3 separate regions of the Homo sapiens genome follow, and all the other regions are linked to region 2. Evidence: promoter capture Hi-C in 16 types of primary human blood cells and fetal thymus (Javierre and others, 2016). All regions are on one chromosome and are shown on one strand. Each heading gives the region's core, a stretch centred on a gene start or on the middle of the fragment in contact. The rest is flanking DNA. Distances are from core to core; before and after follow the strand shown. Region 1 has its middle 8.8 kb from the start of PCNX1. Region 2 holds the start of MED6 (mediator complex subunit 6). Region 3 has its middle 25 kb from the start of PCNX1.

Region 1 (4,536 bases), core at 1,015-3,514, 300 kb after region 2:
AAAAATATGCCTAGCTCTATTATAGACCAAAGACCAACTTCCCTAACATATAATGAGCTTCTACAAATAAGAAAGCAAAGACCTACAATGCAATAGAAAAATGGACAAAGACACCAACAGTGACTAGATAAAGAAAATGTGCTATGTATACACCATGGAATACTACACAGCCACGAAAAAGAATGAAATCATGTCCTTTTAAGCAACATGGATACAGCTGCCAACTAATGCAGAAACAGAACACCAAATACCACATATTCTCACTTATAAGTGGGAGCTAAACATTGAGTACACATGGACATAAAGACAAGAACTATAGACACTGGGGACTATAAGGGGGGAAGGAAGGAAGAGGGGCAAGTGTTGCAAAACTATTGGGTACTATGCTCACTACCTGGGTGACAGGCTCAATCATATACCAAACTGCAGTAACAGGAAATATATTCTTGTAACAAACCTGCACATGTACCCCCTGAATCTGAAATAAGAGTTAAAATTTAAAAAAAGAAAAGAAAAATGGGCAGAGAATATGAACAGGCAAGACCTGAGGAAAAAAAGTACACATGACTCCTAGGCACATGCAAGTGGCTCAGCCTCACTCACAATAGAGAAATTCAAATTAAAGCTACATGGAGACATCGTTTTTCAATTATCAAATTACCAAAGATCCAAAAATCTGACAACATGCTTTGTTGATGACGGTGTTCTGAAACAGGCATTCAACATCTATTCTTCCTCTCTGATTCCTGACACAGTCCAGTTTTATGTAGGCATTTATCCCTCCCAGCATATCCCCTAAGCCTCAGTTCACATTTGGGACTGACTGATCTAAGGGTAATTCCATTCCCCTGGGCAGTAATTGGTTCAGGAACCCAGGCTAGAATGAGTCAGTGTATGGCAGTGCCCTGAGGACAGGGATTAACTCAAGAATAGGGATGTAACCAAAAGTATGTTGGAAGTTCCTGGGAGGGAAATTTCCTTGCTCTTAGGTGAACTTCTAATTGATGGCATCGCTATGTGAAACCTGTAATGGCTATAGCCATTTTGCCTCCATGAGAGAAGCCACCCAAGGCCAAAGCCAACACACATAGGTCATCACAGGGCATTGCAGAGAGAGAGATCCAGAGCCACGAAATTCAGCTGCTCCTGAAGCCTGCTTGCCTCCTGGACTTCCAGTTGTATGAAGTGATCATTTTCCTTATTGTCGATGTGAGTTTGTATAGAATTTTCTGTTACTTGAAACTGCAGGCTAGTAGCCATGTAGCACAGAGAATGTTTCCAAGAATCTAAGTGAAACACATGGGTAAGTCAGAAGGAAAAAATGTCTCTGAAGTTTCTCAGACTTAGCAAACTGCCAAAGCACATGGCATGTGTTGATATAAAAACTTTCCAAATCAGGCTCTGAACTCCAATTAGAATATAGTACAGAAGCAGAGGGAGGAAGGGCTGGAGAGACCAGGACAAAAGTTATCACACATTTACACTGGTTGTGATTGGGCAGTGGGCCTATTAACAAAGCTTTCTCTCTCTTTCCTATATTTTCTCAGATAAAAATACCATGAATGTGTTACTTTTAGGATGAAAAACTAAATACAAAAGACCAATTGGATGTAAAATGGTGGAGAGGCTGGCCCAAGCAAACTCTCAATAAGTTGTCAGGTTTTCAAAATACAAGTCCAAAGGAAGAGTGGATAGATAAATAAATACATGCTCATAAAACCTCTGCATAAATTAGAGATTAGGAAATTTAAGAATTCCTAGTAAACTCGAGGCTATTAGGACTGAGGGATTTAAAACAAAACCCAAAAAGCAAATTTAGAATACAGTTGTCATGTTTAAAGCAGAGCTCATTTTTCTGTTCTTCAGACCATGATTTTTCACAATATTTTTGAGGTGTCATATTTCTAATCACCCCTCATAAGGAATTTGTTTTCATTTCCTAGTCATTCCACAGGCTGAGGGTCACTACATAATTCAGGTTGGGAGGCTGTCTCATCATCTTCTGGATCAAAAAGAATCCTGAAGTGGATGATGGGATTTTTCCCCCTTATTTATTTTCTGACAATCCTGAGAAGTAGAGGGAAGATGAGGATTCCATAAAGGAGACTCAAGTCTAGGGTAATTAGAGAGGAGGAAACCAGGAAGAAGGAGCAGTGACCTGGAAGCAAAGAGATTAAATAAGCCGGGGACTGAAAAATGCCTGCTGGATATGGCAACTAGGAAATCATTGATGATGTGGGCAGAAGCAGGGATGACAGCGAAGGTCAAGGCAGGTGAAAGACACTGTTTCACTCTTAAGAAAGTTGGCTGTGAGGGAGAGGAGGAAGTAGCCCTGAGGATAAGAGTGCCTGTTTCTGGGCTGGAGGAAAGTGCCAGCAGAAAGGAAAAGCTGGTGGTACCTGAGGGACCAAGGTTAACAAACCCAGTAGGGTTTAGGTGGTGGGGTGGAGAGCACAGGTGAAGCCATTTTCTTAGGCAGAACAACACCTTAAAAGGAAAAAAGAAAACAAAGGATGACTGTACATATGAATAAATTTATAAGTTGGGGGGGCAGGAAACTGAGGAATTACTGTCTGATACCCTCTATGTTTTCTGTGGGAGAGAGGGTGGTGTGGGTTGTATGAAAGACGTTGGTGAGATTTTAAAAGTCATTAATAAAGACACAAGAAGTGCTGAGTGAGAACTGGAGAACTGCCAGGAGGACTCCAGGTAACAGTTAGGGTCACAACCTGGAAAGTGCTAGCCTGCATGCTGGTGGCAGAGAAAGCAAATCCATCCAGTGCCATGGTTTTGGCCGATGGCAAGGTTGGGGAGAAAAGAGTGAAAAATCACTAGCTGTGGAATGATTGAATTGCAAAACTATGAGATCCACCATGGATGAGGAAATGAGGGAGGAGAAGAGGTGGTGGTGGTGATGGTAGGAAGTTCAGAGGAAAAAAAGAGGAAAGAAGTGTTTAAAAAGGAAAGGCCAAGGACAGTGCTTCTCAATACCAGTTTGCAGAAGAATAAAGAAGCTTGTTAAAAATGCACGTCTCCAGGCTCCATGTGAGAGATTTCAATTTAGCAAGTCTTGGGTACAAGATAGGAATCGGCTTTCTCCACCAGGTTATTACTTTTTAAAAATTGGTAACACAGGCCACGAGCAGTGGCTCAGGCCTGTAATCCCAGTACTTTGGGAGGCCAAGGTGGCCAGATCATTTGAGGTCAGGAGTTTGAGACCAGGCTGGCCAACATGGTGAAACCCTGATTCTACTAAAATTAGCTGGGTGTGGTGGTGCCTGCCTGTAACCCCAGCTACTCGAGAGGCTGAGGCACAAGAATGGCTTGAACCCAGGAGGCGGAGATTGAGGGGTCTGACACTGCACTCCAGCCTGGGTGACAGGGTGAGACTGTGTCTCAAAAGAAAAAAAAAAAAGGATAACATGTGCATAATGTAAAATTCATTAAGAGAAAAGATATACAATCAAAAGTAAGGTCTCTCACCCCTGTGGCAATTCCTGCTGCCATTTTCTCACATGTTCTGCTAGGGACATTCAGTACACAGATAATCACATAAAATACATTCTTTTCTCTTATGACAAGTGCTGTTATATACTTTTTTCCACATATATATATATATATATATATATATATTTTTTTTTTTTTTTTTTTTTTTTTGAGACAGGATCTCACTTTGTCACCCAGGCTTGGGTGCAGTGGCATGATCTCAGCTCACTGCAGTCTGGACCTCTTGGGCTCACATGATCCTTGCACCTCAGCCACCCAGGTAGCTGGGACTGCAGGCATGCACCATGACACCCAGCTAATTTTTTGTATTTTTTTTTTTTTGGTAGGGATGTGGTTTCACCATGTTGTCCAGGCTGGTCTTGAACTCCTGAGCTCAAGCGATCTGCCTGCCTCAGCCTCCCAGAGTGCTAGGATTACAGGCGTGAGCCACGGCACCCAGCCACTTCACCATATATTTTAAAGATCAATCCTTATTAGTTCATTAAAAGATACTTCAGTATTCTATTGGCTGCTTGGAATTCTATCTTTTAATATCAAAAGATAGAAAACAATAGATGTTTATACTAATTCTTTATTTCAGAGATACCCAACACTGAGGGAGTTTTTCAGTACCCTATGTATAAAGCACCATAACTTAGATTATATGTTTGTTTCTTTGTTTTTGGAGATATTGTCTCATTATGTTGCCTCGGCTGGTCTCACCTTCCTGGGCTCAAGTGATCATGCCGTCTCAACCTCCCAAGTAGCTGGAATATCAGCGTGCACCATGGCACCTGGCTCTAGGATTATGTTTTTTTTTTTTTTTTTTTTTGAGATGGAGTCTTGCTCTGTCACCCAGGCTGGAGTGCAGTGGCACGATCTCGGCTCACTGCAAGCTCCGCCTCCTGGGTTCATGCCATTCTCCTGCCTCAGTCTCCCGAGTAGCTGGGACTACAGGCATGTGCCACTATGCCCAGCTAATTTTTTGTATTTTTAATAGAGATGGGGTTTCACCGTGTTAGCCAGGATAGTCTCAATCTCCTGACCTCG
Region 2 (4,409 bases), core at 1,485-3,984:
CAGAAGAGATTATGCAAGAAAGCAATAACATGATTAAGTCTTATGATAAAGACATGGTGAAACCCTGTCTCTACTAAAAATACAAAAAATTCTGGCCGGGTGCGGTGGCTCAGCCTGTAATGCCAGCACTTTAGGGGGCTGAGGTAGGTGGATCACCTGAGGTTGGGAGTTTGAGACCAGCCTGACCAACATGGAGAAACCCCGTCTCTACTAAAAATACAAAATTAGCCTGGCGTGTTTGTGCATGCCCATAATCCCAGCTACTTGGGAGACTGAGACAGGAGAATCGCTTGCACCCAGAAGGTCTCGGAGATTGTGGTGAGACGAGATCACACCATTGGACTCCAGCCTGAGCAACAAGAGTGAAACTCCGTCTCAAAAAAAGAAAAAAAACAAAACAAAAAATTAGCCGGGCATGGTGGTGGACACCTGTAATCCTAGCTACTCGGGAGGCTGTGGCAGGAGAATCACTTGGACCCAAGAGGCGGAGGTTGCAGTGAGCTGAGATCGCGCCACTGCACTCCAGCCTGGGCGACAGAGCGAGACTCCGTCTCAAAAAAAAAAGACATGAAGAAATGTGTTACGAGACTACAGAGGACCTGGGGAAACGAAAATCATTTTTCATGTGGAGAGAAGGTGGGTTTTAGCACGGTATGTTAAAGAATAAATAAAAACTTACACAGAGAAAAGGGCAAAGTAATTCCAAGCAGAGAGAATGTATATACAGAGGTGTAAAAATATAAAGTATATTATATCTTTAGAGAATAATTTCATTAGGTGAAGAAGTGATAAGATTTAAAATTTAGAAAGGACTTTTTTTTTTATTGGAAATCCTTAATGCTGGCAAGGAATTCAAAATTTTCAAATAACATGTATGCCCAAGAGAACACATCTATAGCTACCAGTTTGAGATCTCTCAATTAGGGATAGAGAAGTTAGGAAGCTATTATTGTAGATGAGATGATAATGATGTAAAAGCTAAGGGATAAACAGGAAGTAGAGTTCCCTTAACTACAGCCACACGGTTTCATATTTAGCGTAGAATTAAATCATAGCTTTTAAAAAGACATGATAGAGCTAGATACTTTTAATAAATGAGCTTGTATTGGCTATTGGCTTTCATGATGCTTCATACCACTGACTGTACTGAACACCACTAGGTGTAAATCATGAACATCAAAATGCCTATACAATACTGGTTGAAAAACTTCAATCTCTCTTATACTGTCATTACCTCAGGCATCTTCAAAGAAGTCAGACCTAATTCAAGGTGACAGGCAGTTTTGAGCCAAGTGACTCAACCGAGAAAAATTATATAAAGGTAAAATGTACTTTGTGTGCTATAAAATAAAGGAGGAGACAGATGAAGTGCGTTAATAACCAAATAATTAGTATAGACCATTTAGATAGTTCATCATAACTGGATCATGCAATAACCAAATACACAACAGGCCAGGAAATAACATTTTCAGAAATGGCCTCCTAACTGGTTTTCCTAATTCTACCCTTGCCCTCCTACACTGTTCCCAGCAGCCAATGTAGTCCTAAAAAAAAGTCAGATCACATCATTCCTCTGATGGAAACCCCTCCAATGGCTCTGCGTTTTACTCAGAGGAAAAGCCAAAGACCTTATCATAGCTTTCAACACCTTTCTGACTTCATCTCCTTCCCACATCCTCTCTCACTACCCTCCAGCCACACTGACCTCCTTGCTGTTCCTTTAACACACCAAACACACTCTTATTTTAGAGTCTTTGCCATGATCCTAACAATCTGAATTATAAGTAAAACATTTTATAAACTAAATATTTCTCTTTTTTATTCTGTAGCAAGGCAACATGTTGACATAGCCCAAGCATTCTAACAGCATTCTAACCATCAGCAAGTGATGAAATAAATAATGAAAGACACGTATGTAAAATCATGATCCAGAAGTGCTGCAGATCGCCAGATAAGTATAAATGAGAATATTTGTAATAAATGTGTTAGACCCCAATCCAGTTAATATTAAAAAAAGGCATCTCAAACATCTCCCTTTAAAAATCAAGTACTATATACACAAAAACAACTCTACATGCTCCCCAAGATCAAGCAGCAGTTAAGGGGTGACATCTCCATACATTTATTCACTGACTGATTCAATATTTGAGTACTTCTGCAGTTCAGCTGTGAAAAAAATACGACCCCTGCCCATAATAATTGCTGGACGTTCGATGTAAAGTATTATCGACTCAAAAAAAAAGAAAATATCTGGGATTCATGCTCAGGGACCCGTGTGGCGCGGTCTAAAGAATTAGGCAGCCACCATGCCAAGTCCCAAGAGATGAATCAAATCAAGTTGGCTTATTACCCCATTCCCTTCTCTGCCTAAACGCCATTCCTTCACTCCAATAGAATAGCCCTAATGTTGTTGCAGAGATACGTGTGTAGAACAAAACTCCAGCTCTGAAAGCTCAAAACCCAGAGCTTCTTCCAACCCCTTCTCTCCGACGCTTCCAAGAGACGCTCCAAGAACTCAGAAAAAAAAAAAAACTCGTCAACGTTTCGCTAGATCACAGCCTTGGGTTGTCCACAAAAACCACTCAAAAAAGCTTGAGACTTCACACAAAGGAACCTAAACCTTGAAACCGCGAGCTATAACATCCCAAACTGGTCCACAGACAATCAAGAGACAAAATATAGCAATACAGTATACCTCGGATATCCACCGCCGCCATAATTCCGAGAGCGTTTACAGGTTCTCTTTCCGGCGCAAAGTAAACGTAAGCCTAGGCCGCCGGAAGCAGCGGGTTGAAGAGAGTGCGCATGGGTGAGGAGGGACGTAGAGCGGAAGAGGGGGCGGGGCGGGCAGGAGAGAGGCAGGGGGTGGAGGTGCGGGTGGGAGGGGAGGAGACGCGAGGGGGCGGAAAGCGGGAGAGGCGCGGGAGGCGGGAAACGTGGGGTGGGGTGGGGTGGGGTGGGGTAGGGGAATGGGAGGGGACGGGACGCAGAAAGATTGGTGCAGGGGAGCAGGGAAAGACTAGAAGAGGGATGGGCCAAAGAAGGAGAACGGGAGGGCGGATTACTGGGAAAAAAATTAGAAGACTTAGAGGACAGAAAGACCGAGTGGAGTCCCGCCCCACGCCCACCACTGATGGAAGAATTCTGCCTTGATCGTCTGTGATCGTCAAGAAAACAAATTCTGATGCTGTAGAGTTGTGCTTGGGAGTGTCTCTTAATTTTAAAAGCTCCCCGGGTGTATCCACTGAGCTATCAGATTTAGGAACGATGGTCATTTATATTTTTCTCCCTGCCTCAGGTATTGGGATGGGACAGGACTTAAGAATTTGGGAGTCATTGGCTTTTATGTGACTAAATCCATTAAAAATCTAAACCAATTAAAGAAGCCTCTGAGAAAAATTTCACAACACAGGAAATGCTTCTGAAGTGAAATATTAATAAGATTAAGAGAAAGGGAATACCCCTGGGTCCCAGAGTAATGAGCAAATGTCTGCATTCCAAGTAGTCTGGAGTAGGTAGCAAGGCTCCAAAGAGGGAATGATTCTGTGTACGGGGAAGCTACAGAAAGCCTCAGATTCTCAAGCTTCAGTGTGGCTCTGTAAAAGCAAAACGATACAGAAATATGCAAACAACACACAGATACTAGGAAGAGGATGCCAAAATCTGAAGGAGGGATGAGGGCGGGTGCCTACATCTTCTCCAAAACTTAGGTACTGTGAAGACTCCCCAAGAATTTAACCACAACCCAGGAGCAAGAGGGGAAGACCAGAAATTTAATTGGGATTTTCAACCTCATAGACAAGGAATTAAAAATTTGTTAACTCCGTAGAATAAAAGTACGTTGCCTGTACATTTCAGTTTGGGAATTTTCTGCCTGAGATGGTATGTATAAAATAGGTGTCCCAACAGAAGTATGTGCATGCACAGAGTAAAGTTTTGAGAGAGAATTTTTCAGGAGGGCCTGGTTGGGAGCCTAGTGGGAGGACATTGCAAAAAGGAAGAGTATCGTGTCCAATAAAAAGTGTGATCCATAAAGCTTTTTGTTTTGTTTTTCTAGTTTTTTGTTTCCTTGTGTTTTGATTAGGCTAGAAGGAGATTAGGAAGAATAGTGACAGAATGCAGATCTGTAGATAATAAAACATATGGTATGCATGGTAAATAAGACCTGGAAGCTCAACCTTTATTTTGTAGGCAATGGGAGAAATGTGATCAAGCTTCCATTTTAGAAAGATAACTTGAGGAAGACAGGGCAAGGTGGCTCACGCCTGTAATCCCAGCACTTTGGGAGGCCAAGATGGGAGGATTGCTTGAGCCCAGGAGCTGGAGACCAGCCTGGTCAAGATAGCGAGATCCCATCTCTATTTCTTTTATATTAATTGTTTCAGTTAATAAAGAAATATAAATTAAAA
Region 3 (4,499 bases), core at 79-2,578, 280 kb after region 2:
TCTTAGTTTCCCCGAATAGTTTAACTGGTGGAAAGGGCAGCAATACTCAAAGCCATTAAACCAAGCAGAACTTGCACTATCAATTTCAGTCTGTTCTGAAGGTATTCATATATGGCTAAGGCTTTTTCTGCAAATGTAGAAAAGCTTACCCTGATATTAAGTTGCTAGGAAAATCATGTATGCATCAGTGTGTCTTCCGTGTTACATGGATATCACTCATATCAAAGTAACATGCATTGCTGCAAAAAGAATTGTAACTGTTATGTACTGAATTGTGTCCCCCCAAATTCATACATTGAAACCCAAGCCCACAATGCGATAGTATTTGGAGATGGGGCCTCTGGGAAGGAATTAGGTTTAGATGAGGTTACCAGATAGGTTCTTGTACGAGGCCATTCTTGTGTGGCCATAAAGAAATACATGAAGTTGTGGATAATTTATAAAGAAAAGAGGGGTATTTGGCTTATTTGGCTTACCATTCCGCAGGCTGTATAGGAAGCATGGAGCTGGCATTTGCTTCTGGTGAGGGCCTCAGGAAGTTAAAATCATGGCAGAAAGGAAGAGGAGCCGGCACATCACATGGTGGGAGTGGGAGCAAGAGAGAGGAGGACAGTGCCATACACTTTCACTTATTATTATTGTTATTATTATCATTTTGAGATGGAGTCTCGCTCTGTCACCCAGGCTGGAGTACAGTGGCGCGATCTCAGCTCACTGCAAGCTCTGCCTCCCCGGTTCAAGTGATTCTCCTGTCTCAGCCTCCTGAGTAGCTGGGACTACAGGCACCCGCCACCATCCCTGGCTAATTTTTGTATTTTTAGTAGAGACGGGGTTTCATCATATTGGCCAGGCTGGTCTTGAACTCCTGACCTTGTGATCTGCCTGCCTCGGCCTCCCAAAGTGCTGGGATTATAGGTGTGAGCCACCGCACCTAGCCTCCATCCACTTTTAAATGACCAGATATCACATGAACTCAGAGCAAGAGCTTACTTATCATCAAGGGGATGGTGCTAAGCCATTCATGAGGGATCCACCCCCATGATCCAATCACCTCCCACCAGGCCCCACATCCAACACTGAGAATCACATTTCAACAAGAGATTGGGATGGCACAAACATCCAAACCATATTAGTCCTCATAATGGGATTAGTACCCTTATGAGAGGAGATAGCAGACAGCTTGCAGTCTCTCTCTCTCTCTCTCTCTCTCTCTCTCCCTCTCTCTCTCTCTCTCTCTCTCTCTCTCTCTCTCCACCATGTGAGGACACAGAGGGAAGGCAGCCATCTACAAGCCAAGGAGAGAGTCCTTACAGGAACCTGACCGTGCTGGGACCTTGATACTCATACTTCCAGCCTCCAGACATGTCAGAAAATAAATTTTTGTTGTTTAAGCCACCCAATCCATAACATAGACTGGGTATTATGTCACCCAGTGCCATAACATGTTATGCTATGGCAGCCTAAGCTGACTTAGATAGTAACCATCATTATGTGACATAAAAGGAGCATAGTAAAGAGAGCACATAATTCTAGAAGGGGTGGAGGTTGGAGAGAAATTAAGTTGAGAAGAGGAGAACAAGATGTCAGGAAAGTCTTCCCATATGAGATACTTCTAGCAATTGAGTCTAGTCTAGAGGAACAGGCAGTTATTCTCTAAATGGTCTCTAAGAAGAGCTGGGGGCCTTAAAAACAAGGGACGTAGCAGTAATCTTTTTTATAGGCTGTGAATTGCTGTGGAACCTATAGCTTCAAACCTATTTGTTTTCCATGAACTCTATAATGATGTCATGGTCTATGCCTTCTTCATGTACAAACATCATACAGTTAACCCACCACCATGATAGCATGTACTTTCTGTTGTCGTGTTGTTTCCTAGTAAGGTGATTGATTTGCATTGCTTCAACCGGGCTCCTCTGATTGATCATTTTCTAAACAATGGATGCATTTACAGATGGTTGCCAGGTTCAGCAGAGGAGGCTGTAGCCATCAAATAGATAAAGTAGGCTCACCACATTCTGGAATTGAAACCGTGATCTTGGTTACATCAGAAGGTGCTCTAACCAATTGAACAAACCAGGCCTCGATGAAGCAACTGAGAGCTGGGGGATTCTTATGCAGAACAGAGCATTCATACTTCCGCTTCCATATGTACCACATATGTGTTCCTCTCAACTGGTTTTGTACATTTCCATTGCCTTAAATGTATTCACATAGCACTCTTTAAATACTCGAAGTATAATGAAGAAAAGAGAAGGAACTGAAATGGTTCCATTCCATTTCTCACTAGGAAGTTGATTCTGTGCACTCTATTTCTGACTATTTTCTATCAGCCTATCACTGTGGGATGTAGGAGGGAGGAACAGGACACAAAATGTGGCATAATTAAAAAAAGATGAAGAAGAAAATTAAAATCATTAACCATTAGTAATCATTTTTAATGTGCATCATTTTTAAAATTCGAGAATAACCCAAGGAGGTAGGCATAATGTTTAGACATGATTTACCAGTGAAAAGAAGCTTAGAGAAATGAAGTAACGGCTGGAAAGTCACAGCTAGAACTCAAAGTGAGAATTCCCACCCAAGAAATCTAACTCCAGATTCTACACTCCTAATCTCCGCTATGTTGCTTTCCTGAAATGAGGAAAGAATAAGAAAGGAGAAAATTAGTGACAGGAAAGAGAGAGCTGAATAAGAGGGGACAAAGAAAGGAGGAAGGAAATCAAGCAGTTTCTACACTCTGGAAAATAACGGAGCAGAATTAACAGAAGAGAACTACTTTCCTCAATGCTCATTCTACTGTTAAAAAAAAAATAAGCCAGGCAGTGCAGCACACGCCTATAATCCCAGTGACTAAGGAGGCTGATGTAGGAGGATTGCTTGAGCCCAGGAGTTTGAAGCTAACCTGGGCAACAGAGCAAGACCTTGTCTCTAAAAAAAATTTTTTTTAAGTAGCTGCATTGTCTTGTTTTTCTAACTTTGTACAGTGCTTAGAGTAACACTATCTAAACAGCATGTGTTCCATAAACCCTGTTGACTAACCGCTGGATTTGCACAAGAAACACCGGAAGACTCTTAGGCAAGAGATATATTGTAAGATCCGTGACAATGAGATCTCTTGGATGACATGTTTTTCATTGTTTACTGCGTGTCTAAAATGAGAAGGTCCTAAGAGCCAACCTTTCATTGGAGTGGCCCCCATAAAACTGTCTGCTGTGTAAGGGGTGTTGGAGTGACTCTCCATCACAGGTTCTACTGCAGCTCTAGGGTGGGTCCTGAGTGATGTGAACCCCACCCCCATCCCCGTTGCTAGTGAATGGGTCTGGGGTAGGCAGGCCAAGGCCAATTGGGACCAATGAGTCATAAAGAGTTTTCTAAACACTTCCGGAAAATATGCTTTCTTACCCTTAAGAAAGAGTCACAGGAAGTTAGTAGGAGGTGAAAAGGGAAGCAATTAACCCAGCAACTACTGGAAGCCTTCCAAAACCCAGGGATCTTTCCCCAGAATGAAGTCAGCATTGGGGATAGCACAGCAGAGAGATGCAAAGAGCCACTGGATCCACCAGTCCTGAATCCTACCCAGCCTTTGACATCCTGCATTGGAGCCAATACATTTCTTTATGATAAAAGCTAGTTTGAGGTTGAGTCAGGATTTCTGTCCCATATTTTAAAGTATCCTACTGATGCAGCCTGGTAAACATAAAACATGGTAAACACATGTGGCCTGATTTTATTGGCAGCATGGTTAACTGGTTCAAGCTATGGTTCAAGCTATTCTTTCCCTTCTGTGATTATGACCATACGCTCTCATGAAAGGTGAAGCCTTTCTCCTGCCATGGCTACCTGGCTAAAAAAGCTCAGCCAGAGTCTCAATTCCTATAACCTCCTTCCCATCCATCCATTCATCCATCCATCTATCCATCCATCCATCCATCCATCCATCCATCCATCCAGCTGATGGATTAATAAATTTATATCAAGCACTTACTCTGAGCAAGGCATTTTGCTAGGCACTGTAAGGCCATCAAAAAGGAAAAAATAGGCCGGGCGCGGTGGCTCACGCTTATAATCCCACCACTTTGGGAGGCCGAGGTGGGTGGATCACCTGAGGTCAGGAGCTCGAGACAAGCCTGACCAATATGGTGAAACCCCGTCTCTACTAAAAATACAAAAATTAGCTGGGCTTGGTGCCGTGCACCTGTAGTCCCAGCTATTCGGGAGGCTGGGGCAGGAGAATTGCTTGAACCCAGGAGGCAGTGAGCCGAGATTGTGCCACTGCACTCCAGCCTGGCGACAGAGTGACACTCTGTCTCAAAAAAGAAAAAAGAAAAAAAAAATCAGATGCTCTCTGTTCTCAGAGACCTTATAGTGTAAAAGGGGAGAAAAAATATGTATACAATTAACTACGGCAAAATGTAGAAAACTGTTAGGTGTCACTAGATACAGTGCCACAGTAGATCAATGAAAGGAAGAGACCATTTCCAGCTGGGAAGGTTAGGGCC

Evidence for each region. Contacts are between HindIII fragments. The CHiCAGO score rates a contact against its expected background, and 5 or more counts as called.
Region 1: a fragment that was not itself captured here is called in contact with the fragment with the promoter of MED6 in region 2 in 1 of 17 cell types (naive CD4 T cells); the score reaches 5.9 in naive CD4 T cells.
Region 3: a contact is called between a fragment that was not itself captured here and the fragment with the promoter of MED6 in region 2, in 3 of 17 cell types (naive CD4 T cells, total CD8 T cells and total B cells). The highest score is 5.7, in naive CD4 T cells.

The regions. Positions count from the first base shown.
Region 1 is chr14:70,896,346-70,900,881 of GRCh38, forward strand. No RefSeq gene overlaps it. Among named protein-coding and RNA genes, the nearest start is that of PCNX1, 8.8 kb to the right of the region's middle. The HindIII fragment of the contact is 1,496 bases long and covers 1,517-3,012 here.
Region 2 is chr14:70,597,921-70,602,329 of GRCh38, forward strand. MED6 (mediator complex subunit 6) reads right to left here and starts at 2,735. Exons shown (of 8, transcript NM_005466.4): 1 at 2,696-2,735. The coding sequence starts at 2,717. RefSeq lists an enhancer at 2,237-3,436. The HindIII fragment of the contact is 992 bases long and covers 2,590-3,581 here.
Region 3 is chr14:70,879,914-70,884,412 of GRCh38, forward strand. No RefSeq gene overlaps it. Among named protein-coding and RNA genes, the nearest start is that of PCNX1, 25 kb to the right of the region's middle. The HindIII fragment of the contact is 2,373 bases long and covers 143-2,515 here.